2 separate regions of the Homo sapiens genome follow, and region 1 is linked to region 2. The links are contacts of gene promoters, found by promoter capture Hi-C in blood cells and fetal thymus (Javierre and others, 2016). All regions are on one chromosome and are shown on one strand. Each heading gives the region's core, a stretch centred on a gene start or on the middle of the fragment in contact. The rest is flanking DNA. Distances are from core to core; before and after follow the strand shown.

Region 1 (7,041 bases), core at 2,943-5,442, 250 kb before region 2:
TCTTGATTTCTTTATCTTGCAGGCTCATAGCTGTGGCCAGGACTTCTAAATCTCTCTAAAGGAGAGAAACATAACTGGCTATTCTGGTTGTCGCACCTGTATTGTCTTATCATGATTCCTAGCTTCTTTGCATTGGGTTATAACATGCTCCTTTAGCTCTGTGAAGTTCATTATTACCCACCTTCTAAAGTCTACTTCTGTCAATTCAGCCATCTCAGCCTCAGCCCAGTTCTGTGCCCTTGCTGGATAGGTGTTGTGGTCATTTGGAGGAGAAGACACACTGACTTTTTGAGTTTTCAGTGTTTTTGTGTTGATTTTTTCTCATCTTTGTGGGGTTATCTACCTTCAATCTTTGAGGTTTCTGACTTTTGTGAGATCTTTGTGGATGTTGTTATTTTCTGTTTGTTTTAACAGGCCACTCTTCAGTAAAGCTGTTGTGGTTTGCTGGGGTTCCACTCCAGACCCTAGTTGCCTCGGTTTTTCCCATACCTGGAGGTATCACAAGTGATGCCTGCAAAACAGCAAAGAGGGAAGCCTGCTCCTTCCTCCAGAAACTCCAACTCCGGGGCCACTCACTTGTTGCCAGCCTGAATGTGGCTGCAGGAGGTGGTTGAAGACCCCTGCTAGGAGGTCTCACCCAGTGGGAAAGAACAGGATCAGGGACCTACCTAAAGAAGCAGTCTGACTGCCCTTTGGTAGAGCAGGTAAGCTGAGTTGGGGAGGACCATTCCTCATCTGGACCATTTGTATTCTCCAAAGCCAGCAGGCTGGAACAGCTGAGTCTACCAAACTGCAGAGATGGTAGCCACCCCTCCCCCTGGAGCTTTGTGGGACAAAGCTCTCCCTGGGGGTAGAGATCAGAGCTCTGTCTATAGAACACTTGCTGGAGTGGCTGAAGCCCCTGCAGGGAGGTCTCACCCAGTGAGAAGAAATGGTTCAGGGTCCTGCTTAAAAAAGCAGTCTGGCCAAGATCTGGCAAGGCAGCTGTGCTGTCCTGTGGGGATCCCCCCCTTGTTCAGACCACCTGTATTTTTCAAAGCTGGCAGGCTGAAACAACTGAGTCTACCAAACCACAGAGATGGCAGCCACCCCTACCCCTGGGAACTTGGTCCAGACTCAGGCAGACTCCAGCCTACTGCTGCCGGCTGGCTGGAATTCCAAGCCATTGGGTCTCAACCTGTGAGATGCCATGGAAATGGGGCCTGCAGAATGATGCCACTTGGCTCCCCAGACTCAGCCCCCTTCCTAGGGACATGCACAGATGAATCTTCTGCCTTGCCACAGATCCTGGGGCTGGAGTATGCAAAACTCCTGGGTGTCTGTGTGTGCCTGAGTGGCCACTCTGCCAAGACTCCACACAGGCCATGTATCGAGCCCAAGACCCTGGTATTGTGGCTCATGAGGGGATCTCCTGATCCACAGCTTGCAGAGATCCATGGGATGAGTGTAATTTCTGGGGAAGGGTCACGCATTGACTCACCACTTCCCTTGGCTGGGGGTGGGGGTTCCCTTGGCTTGGTGCTGCTCCCAAGTGGGTCATCACCCCACCCCACTTCTTTTCATTCTCTGTGGGTCAAGCTATTTGCTTAGTCAGTCCCAATATGAGAACCCGAATATCTCAATTGAAGGTGCTGAATTCACTTGCTCCTTTCATTCCTCTCTGTGAGTGCCACAGACTGCAGCTACTTCCAATCAGCCATCCTGGCCCCTCAACAACCAAATGTGATCAATTCTTAGTATACCATCCATACACATGCTGAAATACCAAAAAAGATTTCTGAAAAGAAAGCAAAATATTACAGAAATAAGTGCAATTACTATTTCAGCACAAGATTTTTGGTAGAGAGGAAAAGATTAGATTTTGTTAATTTGGGCTCAAATCCAATGCATTTTTCCCTCTACCTAATGAAATATTACTGAATTATCATATGGCTTAGAGACTCCATTGTAGGGTTCACTTATACCCCCACATTTCAACACCTCTGAATCATGATGCATCTTATAATCAATGAAATACCATAGTCTAGGAGGTTTTTTAAGTCTTAGTGGTACACAAAATAATGGCATATCTCACAGTTCATTACAAGTTTGATTTGATAAAATATGGTACATGACCCTCATAAATAGGTTTCCCTTCTAACTTGTTGGTTTAAAAAATAAAAGTAAGGTACTACGAGAGTAGGGACTCTGAATCATACCCTATCATATTCCTATTCCTTTCCAGTGTATTTGAATTTTTATTCTGCTACCTGAATTAATTTAAATTATGCAAAAAATTATAAACACTATACTGAAGAATCTTAAAGCTTATAAGTTTTTCTTTTTGGTATCTGATAATATCAATTTATTAGAATATGTTTACATGAATTCCAAATTTTCCAAATTAATAGAATAATTCAGTATGTACTCAGGATGAATTTAGTGATTTACAAAGTTTCTTTTCCAGGTGATTTTCCCAAACTGGCTTTTCACCTGTATGAGTTCTCACATGTTGTTTATCCACGTGCATGAGTCTTTACATGCCAAGTAATTAATGAACTCTTATACATTCTGATGAATGTAATAAATTGATAATGTTTTCTCCAGTGTAAATTATTTGCTCTCTAAATGAGGTCTTTATAGCTAAAGGCTCTGTGACATAATCATGAGGTTTCTCTTCAATGTGCATTCTCTGTGGTTAATGAGGTATCTAAATAATTTAATACATTGACTATATTAATGAGATTTAGGAGTATTAGGAGTTTTTACATTAGTAAAAGAGAAGTTATTTTGAAAAGTATTTCCACACTAATTACAGTTTATACTGTATTCTCTCCAGTATGAATTCTCCAATACTAATGAAGGATGATTTATAGTTAAAGAACTGCCCACATTGCTAGCATTCAAAGGACTTCTTACTATTGTTGTACAGAAACTGAGCTACAGGTACAAGGTTTCTCACATTTACTACATTCACGGGGTTTGTAGTGGGTTGAATAGTGTCCACCTCCCCCTCAAAATTCACATCCACCCAGAATCTTGGAATGTAACTTTATTTGGAATGGGGTCTTTTCAGATGTAATTATTGAAGATAAAGTCATACTGAAATTAGGATATGCCCTAAATATGATGACTGGTTTCCTTACAAGAAGAGTAGAAGAGACAGAGACACACACAGAGAAGAAAGCCATGTGAGGATGGAGACTGGAGTGATATAGCTACACATCAAGCAATGCCAAAAATTACTGGCAACCAGCAGAATCTAGGAGAAGGGCATAGAACAGTTTCTTCTTGAGAGCCTCCAGAAGGAACAAACTTCCCAAATCCCTTTATTTCTGACTTCTGGCCTCTTAAGCTGTGAGAGAATAAACTCCTGTTGTTTTAAGCCACCCAATTTGTGCTTATCTGTTTTGGCAGCTATAGGAATCTAATTTCCCCTCCTGTGTGATTCTTCTGATATACAATAAAGTATTATCCACTGAAGAAAGCTTTGCCATATTTGTTATATTGATTAGGATTATCATTTCTACAAATTTTGGGTGGCTAAAGAATTTTAACCCCTGGTACTGTGGCTTTTTACTTTAATTAAAATCATAAAAATTCTCTCCAGTATGACTTCTCTATGCACAATGAAGTGGAATTTTCTAGTGAAGGCCTTCCTACATTTATTACACTTATAGGAACCTCTACACTATGAACCTCTTGATGTCTTATGAAGTTTGTTATAACTGAAAGTTGTCCCACATTATTATATTAAAAAAAGTTTTACACATGCATAGGTTGAACTAATAATTTCCCACATTTTTATGTTTATAATATTTCTTGCTAGCACAGTTTCTCTCAACTGTATCAAAATTACACTTCAAATGCCCTCAAATAACTATGAGATGCTGCTTTCCTTGGAGGAATTAGCTTTGAGCTCAGATAAAAACTGGCTTCCAATTTTACTATATTCATTTCCTTTCTCCACAGTCAATGCTTTATTGAAGATGAATGTACCTAGCTTCAAGTCTCCCTCCCCTCCTTTTGAAATAAATTTTACAAAGAGCTTTTCCTTGTGAATATTCTTTCAGTCAACTTAGGAATACCCTTGTTCAGAATTGTCCTATTGTATGTTTCATGTCTCACCTTCTAGAACTATTGAGAGCTCAATTGCAAATGACCTCTTCCCTAGCTGAAAAAGTACTCATTGTAAGACAACTGGTGCAGAAATAAACAATTCAGGGAAGATAACATTTGAGTAATTTCAAACATGATCTTGCATTATGCAGAAAGCCAATAAAATAATCAGAAGGAAGATGAAAAGATGAAAGAGAAAGTATATAGAACAGAGAGTAAGCACAAAGAGGACTGGACAGGAAACGGAGTTACTAGAAATAGCAGCTAGAGTGATGTCAGAAGGGAATGGCAGAATAAGGACCTCCAAAACTCCCCTACTCCATAAAAGCAATGGGAACACAGGCAATAATTATTGAAATCAAGTCTTTCAGAACTCTAGAAATTAACCAAAATCTTATAATAATCCAGAGAGCATTTATTCAAGAAAATGGCTGAATATTGGTAAGGACAGCATTTCTTTTGGCATATAAATTGCTCTATTCTTACTCACTTTATCCCAACTGCACAGCACCTTTGAAAATCAAAAATCAGTAATCATAGTTAAAATCTGCAACCTAGCAGCTACTGGAGAGGAAGAACAGGTTGAAACATCCAACACCCCAATCCTAGACAACTGTCCTTATTTAATCTGGAGCTTCCTAAGAAAGCGCCACTCAAAGGTCTTCTCTTTATTTTACCTCACTCAGATTTCCTGCAGTGTGAAAGGCCTTTTCTCCACAGGCATTCATCAAAAATCATCAATGGCAAGTGTTTAATACTGCAGCTGCCTGAGGTAGTGATAAGAGTGGATCAAATAACAAGCTAACCAAAAAAGCTTTTAAAAAGTAAAATCCAGGGAACAAAGTGTCCATGGGGGGCTTTAAGCATGCATAGGAATAGCATGCATACTCAGGACTATAAGTATGCTAGGAAAGACATGACAAGGCCCTAGGTTCTCACCTGAGGCTGTCCAGGAAGCTCTGCACGAGCCAGAAGTAAAATCTAAGACAGGGTCATGAACTGCCTCTCCAAGTGTTGAGAGCATGCCTAGACACACACACACACACACACACACACACACACACACACAGTGCCCCTCAGCAGTCCAAGAGTCTTAGTTCTATACTTTAAAAAAATATATCTCCAATTCATAGCTGATTTGCATGGTAGCAAAACAGAGAGTTCAGTGGCCACAAATGAGAACAATATACAGACTTTCCTGAATGAGCCTGATCCCATATCTCAGAGCCCACCAGTGTTAATACCCTGGGTGGGTATCCTTTCATCTCATTCTCTTTAGTCATAAAAAGTATCTATCTATGGTTGTTGCCTCCATTTCCTCAACTCCTATTCTCCCAGAATGCATCCAACTGGCTTCTGTTTCCTGCATCTGAAGGAAAGGACACTGGTTCCACTGAGAGCCTCAAGTAACATTCATGGTGCCAAAACTAATGGTTCCCTCTTAGTCACTCTCCTGCTCACTTTCTTAGTGGTCTTCAATGCAAGGTGGCCCCACCTTTCTTCTTGAAATCATCTCTTCTCAGATATCCATGTCATTACATTTACCTCGTTTTCCATCTACCTAACTGGATGTTCTTTTCTATCTCTGTCATAGACTTCTCCTCTGCTCCATCTCTAGATATTGATGTGCCCCAGGACTCACAGAAAGGCTCTCCATGCTTCTCTATCTGCACCCTCTTCCTGGCATTCAATATTGTCCACATGCCTATGCCTCCCAAATGTAGATCTACTTCCCTGTCTTCTCCTGTGGCTTGCAGACCTCTCCACATGAATATCTAATAGGCAATTCAAACTTAACAATGGAAAAATAGAACTCCTCCCACCAAAACAAAACAAAACAAAACAAAAAAAACACCAATAATACTTTTCCTGCTCCAAGTCTCTTTTCCTCTCTGTCAAGAATCCAGTGTTACAAACCCCCATGTTGCACATGCCAAAACTCAGGAATCAGATTTGGTTTCTTTTATCCTTTATCCCCCATGTATATCCATCAGTAAGCCCTGCCTACTCTACAGCCAAAATAATGTATATCCAAAATTCAACCACTTTTATTCTACTGCCTACTCATGCCATCATGTAATACAATATATAACCTATTGATAGGCATGACTATTGTGGCAAGATCTGCTTGATGCTCACAAATCTTCCCCACATAAGAATACTACATTTCCCAGTCTCCTTTGCAGTTACTTTAAGACAGTGTGACTGAGTCCTGGCTGTTGGAATATGCAACACTCAGTATATGCTACCTCTAGCTGAGCCCCTAAAATGTCCCACTCAATCTTCCTGCCACAGGTTAGAAGCAAGGGATGAGCATTACTTTGAGCCTAGACCCTGAGACACCTTCTGGAACAGCTGCCCAGAGTCACCTCCCGACCACATCACACTGTGTGTTGAGCAAGAGATAAACTTTTTTGTGTTAAGCAACTGAGATTTGGAAGCTTTTCTGGCACTGCAGCTAGCATGTATACTAATAGACATATAAACCACATGCAGACATTGATCCACTTAGAACAGCAGATACCTCTGTGAAGGCTGGATTTCAGCCTAATCTGCAATTATTTTTATTTTTCACAAGGATAAAGAATACGTGTAGTTCAGGTGCAGATAACAAATTTAAAAGACAATTCCTGCATTCCCCTCCTCTTGCAGCTGGAACACCCTGTCTGTATACCAACTGCTCTTCCCTCACTCACTCCCAGAGTTCCTTCATCTCCACGGCTTTGGTTCACAGCTAGGGCAGGAAGGCAATTATGAGACACAGTCAGTAAATCAGTCCACAGTTACTTACCAGCACCCAACAGTCAGGCCCTGGGCATGGTGCAAGCCAGGCACCAAGAGGTGAATAAATCATGCTGTCTGGCCTTGAGCAGCTCCACAGTCTGGCAATTTCTTCCCAGAGTGACCGCTCTTCACAAGAAACTGCTGTGTTAACAAGCTCAC
Region 2 (6,556 bases), core at 694-3,193:
GGGGTGTCCAGCTCACAGGCCCAGCCTGGGCCTCCTAACACCAAATGCAGCCACCACCACCCCCAGCCTGCTCCTCCCTTCAACTCTGGCTCCAGCCTGGACATTGGACAAACTCCGATTGCCACCTGAGTAGCTGGAAAGGACCCAGCCCTTCTCTCAAGCAGTTCATGAGGAGGGGGGCGGGTGGAGTGTGCACGCACACATTTGCTTATTCATTCGACACGCATTTGTTAGTGCCTGCTTTATGCACGGTGCTAGGTGCTGGGGACTCGGATCTTATTTTGCTGCATCAGTCCTGAGAAGGACTACCTGCAGGGATGTGTGAGGGCGGTGGGGGCACACAGCAGGCAGATGCCAACTCTGTGTGGGGTGCTCAGAGCTGAGCATTGCAGGATGCGTAGGAGTTTGCCAGGTACAGAATGGGCAGAGGCGTGGAGATGAGAAGGGTCTTGGAGGGTGCTAGGAAGGGCTGGTGGCCAGGGTGGCTGGAGTGCAGGGAGTGGACGGGGAGTGATGGGCAATGAATCTGAAGGGGGCAGGGACCGGAATGTCAGGCCATGGAACTGGGACTTGATGCCGTGGCAATGGGGAGTCATGGTGGGGTTTACACAGGGGAGAGGCCAAAAGCTCAGTGTCCTCTCTGCTAGCTCAGCCCCAAACATCTTCCTCTCACCTCCTGACGCAGCAGATAAGGACAGCAAGGCTCAGAAAGGCCAGGTTTCCTGTCCCTCCCCGATCCTCAGCCCCTCATCACCCGTGGCTGGACTCCCTGTGTGGCCTGGGCCAAATATTCAGCTCTTCTGGGCCTCAGTTTCTGTGTCTGTAAAACGGGGATCATCATGGAAGGAAGGAAGAGTTTAGTGAGGTAAGAAGGCTACACAAGTAGCCCGCCTGTCTCCCTCAGGGGAGGCAAGACAGACTGGTTCCAGACCATTTGCTACCCCAGGAAATGGCTGGGCAAGGTCTCTCTGAGAGCTGGAATGACCAGGCTGAACACAGGGCTGTAGGTCAGGCATCTGCTAGAACCCAGGTACTAGAGATCAGAATGCCCTATACACACACACACACACACACATACACACACACCCAGAACAGTGGCAGACACCCCCTCCCCTCCTCAGATGCGTTTCACCAGGTTCCCCCACACTCACAGCCACGCGCCTACAGAGATGCAAACTCACACACAGCTCCCGGTGTCCTGCAGGCCTCAGGGTAGCCCTGGTCCCAGTGTGCTAGGGACAGTCCCACCTCATATCCACTGCCTTGGCCTAATTAGCAGTGCCCCTTTCTTATTCATGTCCATGTCCACAATAAACTGTCTGATAAACCACTACATAGCGGACACACTGGTGTTGCCTTTCCTCTCCAGAGAGGTTCTCAACCATGCATGTGTGTATGTGTACACACGTGTGTACATGCAAGTGTGCGTGTGCATGTGTTCATGTGCGTGTCTGCGTGCATGTGTGTCTGCTTGTGTGCATGTTAGTGTGTGTGCGTGTGTGTGTGCCAGAGACGCCTTTGGCAGTCTGGGCAAGCCTGTAGGCTCTTAAATGCCGATTAGATTTAAATTATAGTTATCAGAATACTAAAAGGGGTCTGTGACGTGGCGCTACCTGGGCTTCCTTCTTAACCCAGTGAATGACACGGTCTAGCAGCGGGTCTAATACCCACTGCAATTTCAAAGTACTAAGGAAGGAAAGCGAGATTGCGCCATCTCTGAAATCAGTAGTGCTACTATAGCTCATTGCGTTCATAATTAAAGGACATGCTATGTTCCAATTAGAGTACAAAAGATGTTATTTCTGCCCATCCACGTTCACGCACCCCCACCTCGATTTCTCTCCAGGTCCTGAAAGCTGCTGTGCGACGCGGTCCTCGGACCTGGCCACCTGCCTCGCCCCGGCCGGGCCTGGCCTGCACTGGCCCGCACCGGCCCGCACCGGTCAGCACCGCCTCGCACCGGTCAGTACCGCCTCTCCGCTGTCCGCTCCTGCGCAGCCGTCCGCAGTTCCGCATGCCACCGCCAGGTGTCGCTGCACACACGCCGTGGCCCCGAGGCTCCTCTGCAAGCCGCTCCGCGAGGCTCTAGGGGGCCCCCCAGGGTCCTGTTTCCCGCGGCCCGCAACTTATCTGTGCACAGAGCACCCCCACGCTGCGCTAGGAACTTCCGCTGCTCCCCCACCACCTCACTCCTTCGTGCCTTTGAGCATGCTGCCTGCAGTGCCTGCCCTGATCTCCGGCTGGGTGATTCCTGCTGCACGTCAAAACCCACTGGAGGCAACACCTCCTCCAGGAAGCCTTCCCTGATGCCACTATAATGGCCCCTCTTGAGTTTCCACAGCCCCCTGTGTCTGCCTCATCATTGCAGTGACTGCCAACATGGTTGTGTCTGTTTCTGTGTCTGACTCCCCACTAGAATGTGAGCTTTGGGAGTATGGGGAGGGCCACGCAGTGGGCTGTTATGTTTTGTTTTTTAAGTAGACTTAATTTTTTAGAACAGTTTTAGGTTCCCAGGAAAACTGAGCAGAAAGTACAGAGAGTTCCCACACACTCCCTGCCCCTACACGTGCACAACCTCCCCTCTATCAACATCCCCAGCAGAGGGGTGCATGAGGGACCTGCACTGCCACATCAGTGTCACCCACAGCCCATGGTTTACGTGAGGGCTCATTCTTGAAGCTGTACATTCCATGTGTTTGGACAAATGTACAACGACCCTTATCCACCATTATTGTATCACACAGAATAGTGTCACCGCCCAAAAAATTCTCTAAACTCCACCCGTAATCCCCTGTGCTCCCTTCCCCCTAACCCCTGGCAACCACAGATCTTTTTACTGTTCCCATAGTTTTGCCTTTTCCAGAATGTTGTATTGTTGGAATCATACAGTGTGTAGCCTTTTCAGATTGGCTTCAGATTGGCTGGGCCACATGGCAAAACCCCGCCTCTACAAAAAATACAAAAATCAGTTGGGCGTGGTGGTGCATGCCTGTAGTCCCAGCTACTCAAGAGGCTGAGGTGGGAGAATCACATGAGCCTGGTAGGTTGAGGCTGCAGTGAATCGTGATTGCTTCACTGCACTCCAGCCTGGGTGACAGAGAAAGACCCTGTCTGAAAAAAAAAAAAAAAAAAAAAAAAAAAAAAAAAAACAGCCAAACTGTTTTCCAAAGTGGTTGTGCCATTTTGCATTCCCACCAGCAATGAATGTGAGTTCCTGGTGCTCCACATCCTCGCCAGCATTTGGTGTGTTAGTGCTTTGGATATGAGCCACTCCAGTAGGTGCGTGGCAGTATCTCATGGTTGGTTTAACTTGCAGCTCCCTAATGATATACCTATGTGGAGCATCTTTCAGGTGCTTATTTGCCATCTGTGTATCTTCTTGAATGAGGTGTCTGTTTAGATCTTCTGCCCACTTTTTAATTGGGTTGTTTTCCTATTATTGAGTGTTAAGAGTTATTTGTAGATTTTGGATAATAGTCATTTATCAGCTATGTCCTTTGCAAATATTTTCTCCCAGTCTGTGGCTTTTCTTCTCATTCTCCTGAGCAATGAGGTTTCCCTTACAGAGTTGAATCCCTGTGTGGCCCTAGGCAAGTCATACACTCTCTCTGAACCTCAGTTTCCACCTCTATAGATGGGGCTGGGAGCCCTCCCTCCAGGTTGTAGGTGGGAACAGGATCTGAGCAACGCAGAGCCTGCCAGCACAGAGCCTGGACACGGCAGGGGCTGCCGGTAGATGCTGGTGGAACTGAGTCACCTCCATTCCCTTGGGGGTGCATTTTGCCCACAGTTCCATCATTAAAGCCCCTAGCTATCAACGATGGTTCCATCCATGGCAGAGCAGGCCAGGCCAAGCCAGCCCACAAATCTGTTTGCAGGAAGATTCCTGTGGTTGGAATCCCTTGGTCTTAGGAATGGGTCAGAGGAGCAGACCCCAGGGAGCCCTTGGGATCATGGACAGACCTACTGTTCAAGGGAGGGGTGGCCACTCTGCCCAAATTCCCTCAAGGACCACCCCTCACTCAGTATCCCATCCTCTCCCCACTTGGTCCCCACAGACCTCTGGCCTCTGCTCCCACCGCACCTTTCCCTCCAGCCACACTGGCTGTGGGAAAGCCTTGCAGCCCTTCCTGCAGTCAGAAACACCTTTCCCCCGTGCCACTTGTCCAAATCCACCCCTCCATTAGTTGCAGGCAGAGCGGCCAGGCTGGGGCTGCAGCCACGAGGGGGCACTGTTGCCCCGCAGCTGCGTCAGAACTCATCCACAAAGCTGGAAGGTGCTTCTGTCCCACCAGCTTGCAGAGCGGCAGGCGAGGAGAATGCCTGTCTCACAAAGCTATGGAAGCTAAACGAGGGGAACGTCAGTGGCCCCATCCCACACCCGGGACCTGCTGGGGCCGCTCTGATACCTCCTGCGATGGGTGCTCACTGCCTCCAGCCAGGCTGCCCAGCCCTTGGCGGGAAAAGCTCTGCCTGGAGACAGGGCTTTGCAGTGGACCCAGTCTATTTTGCAGAAGCCATAAGGTGCTGTGGGGCAACGGGGTCTTCCAAATGAAAAACGTTGAGAAGAACAGATTTACCTTGGGAACCATAAGAAAGAAGCAGTTTGGGGTTTCCAGAGCAGCCCAAAACCTAAAAGGGCACGTGAAATTCCTCAGTGTTGACATGTTGGCTCAAAACTTTTCTAAATATTGTGCCCAAGCCAAGCAATGACCCACTTGAGCCTACAGCCCACAGGATGGGATGCTGGTTTTGGGTGTAGCTCAGTGACTCAGAGAAAGCAGAACCCTTAGCGCCCGTGTGCAGAACAGCCGGCAAGCAAGCGCGGCACGCCCCTCCACTTGGCACATCTCAGGAAGTGGGATGATTGATGGGGACGCACAGGCTTTCTGGAGGGCAGCCTGAAAAAATGGGGTCAAAACTGGAGTACAGACACCCATGATCAGCAGTTCGCTCCTTGGTTGCATGTCCAGGGAAGTCCACAAATGGGCCCCCTTCTCTGCAGCAGAGTCTGTGGGGTGCGTACCTGGGAGCAGCCTGGACACGTGATCCCAGGGAAAGTGTGGGGTGCCCCTCGGAGGACTCCGTAGCAGGCACCAGCAACAGACAAGATGTGCGCCAACAGGAAGGAACACTTAACACTGCTGACTACACAATCAGGGAGCCGAGTGGCATCCGTAACACCAGGCTGCAAAGCAACTGCAAATATGTGCACCAAAGAGTGCACTGCAGCGAGTGGGGAGGAAGAGAAACTTCACAGTGGAGAGACCCAATCAGCACGACCTCAGCCAGATGGGCAACGCCAGCATCACAAGGGATGCCTCATGTTGACAGCAGCTGCCCTCCATTGGATGTGCTGATCAGGGCACTTTACCTCTGTGATCTTCCTCCCCAGACCCACAATCCCAGTCTAATCATGAGAAAAGTGTCAGACAAACCCCAGTAGCGGGCATCCTACGATGTATCGGGCCAGTCCTCCTCAACTGTCAAAATCGTCAAAACCAAGGCAAGAGCCAGGCATGGCGGCGTGTACCTGTAGTCCCAGCACTTTGGGAGGCTAAAGTGAGAAGATTACTTGAGACCAGGAGTTCAAGACCAGCCTGGGCAACACAGAGAGACCCCCCCCCATCTCAAAACAAAAACAAAATCCCAGAGCTAGTCTAAGAAACCGTAATGTGTATCCCAGAGGAGGTCCTGGGACAGAAAAAGGACATTAAATAAAAGCAAAGGAAAGCTAAATAAAGTATGGACTTTAGTTAAGAATGTATCAATATTGATTGACACATATCTCACTGTGCACATATAGTAATGTAAGGTGTTAACAGTAAACGGAATTAGGTGGGGGACTACTCAGAATTATCTTTGCACCTTTTCTAGAAATCAAAAACTATTCTAAGACTAAAACTTTATTTTAAAAAATACATGCCCACCGCACCACAGTACCCATTTTCTAAACCAATTTTCAGCACAGAGATACACAATGAAGGTGTTAGGATGGAGGCCGGCGGGGCAGGGATGGGGATATTGACACAGCCCCCAGGGACAATGGTGTGGGTGAGTGCCAGCCTTCACCCCCTAGCTCTCCAAAACTAACCCAACAGGAAGGCCAGGGGCCCCAGGCACTCCCCACATGCCCTCTGCATGCCCTGATGGTGGGGCAGCTGCACAGACCTGCCCATCATGGTGTGCCCATCTCTAGCTGGTCCCAGGCTGGCCATGCCCAGAGAGGACAGGCAGGCTGACCCAGGTGTGGGCCCCACAGGCAGCAGGAAGGCCCTGGCAGGGGAGGCCAGCAGGTGGGCTGGGTGCTGCCCTGACCGTGTGGGACTAACACATATGAGTGTGTCTGGGGTCTGGGGACCTGTGTTCCATTCCACACACCCCTCCTCAGGGCCGGGAGAGCAGCGCACATGCGGGAGGGTGGAGATCATGAACATGGGTGTGAATGTCGCTGCTCTAGCTGAGATGGGTCCGCCAGGCTTGTCCAGTCTGAGATGGGTGAGTCACTGTCTTGTCCCTGAGATAAGAGAGGGGCCCAGGCATGAGATACAGCCCA

What was found. Contacts are between HindIII fragments. The CHiCAGO score rates a contact against its expected background, and 5 or more counts as called.
Region 1: a fragment that was not itself captured here is called in contact with the fragment with the promoter of LINC00620 in region 2 in 2 of 17 cell types (non-activated CD4 T cells and naive CD4 T cells); the score reaches 5.6 in non-activated CD4 T cells.

Annotation. Positions count from the first base shown.
Region 1 is chr3:13,898,376-13,905,416 of GRCh38, reverse strand. It overlaps LOC105376957 (a long non-coding RNA gene), which reads right to left. Exons shown (of 3, transcript XR_001740602.3): 3 at 1-1,777. Among named protein-coding and RNA genes, the nearest start is that of WNT7A, 22 kb to the right of the region's middle. RefSeq lists a silencer at 1,131-1,425. The HindIII fragment of the contact is 1,445 bases long and covers 3,470-4,914 here.
Region 2 is chr3:13,646,108-13,652,663 of GRCh38, reverse strand. It overlaps LINC00620 (long intergenic non-protein coding RNA 620), which reads right to left and starts at 1,943. Exons shown (of 6, transcript NR_027103.1): 1 at 1,831-1,943. LOC100293612 (a long non-coding RNA gene) reads left to right here. Exons shown (of 2, transcript XR_110033.3): 2 at 4,188-5,551. RefSeq lists an enhancer at 4,306-4,465. The HindIII fragment of the contact is 11,588 bases long and covers 1-6,556 here.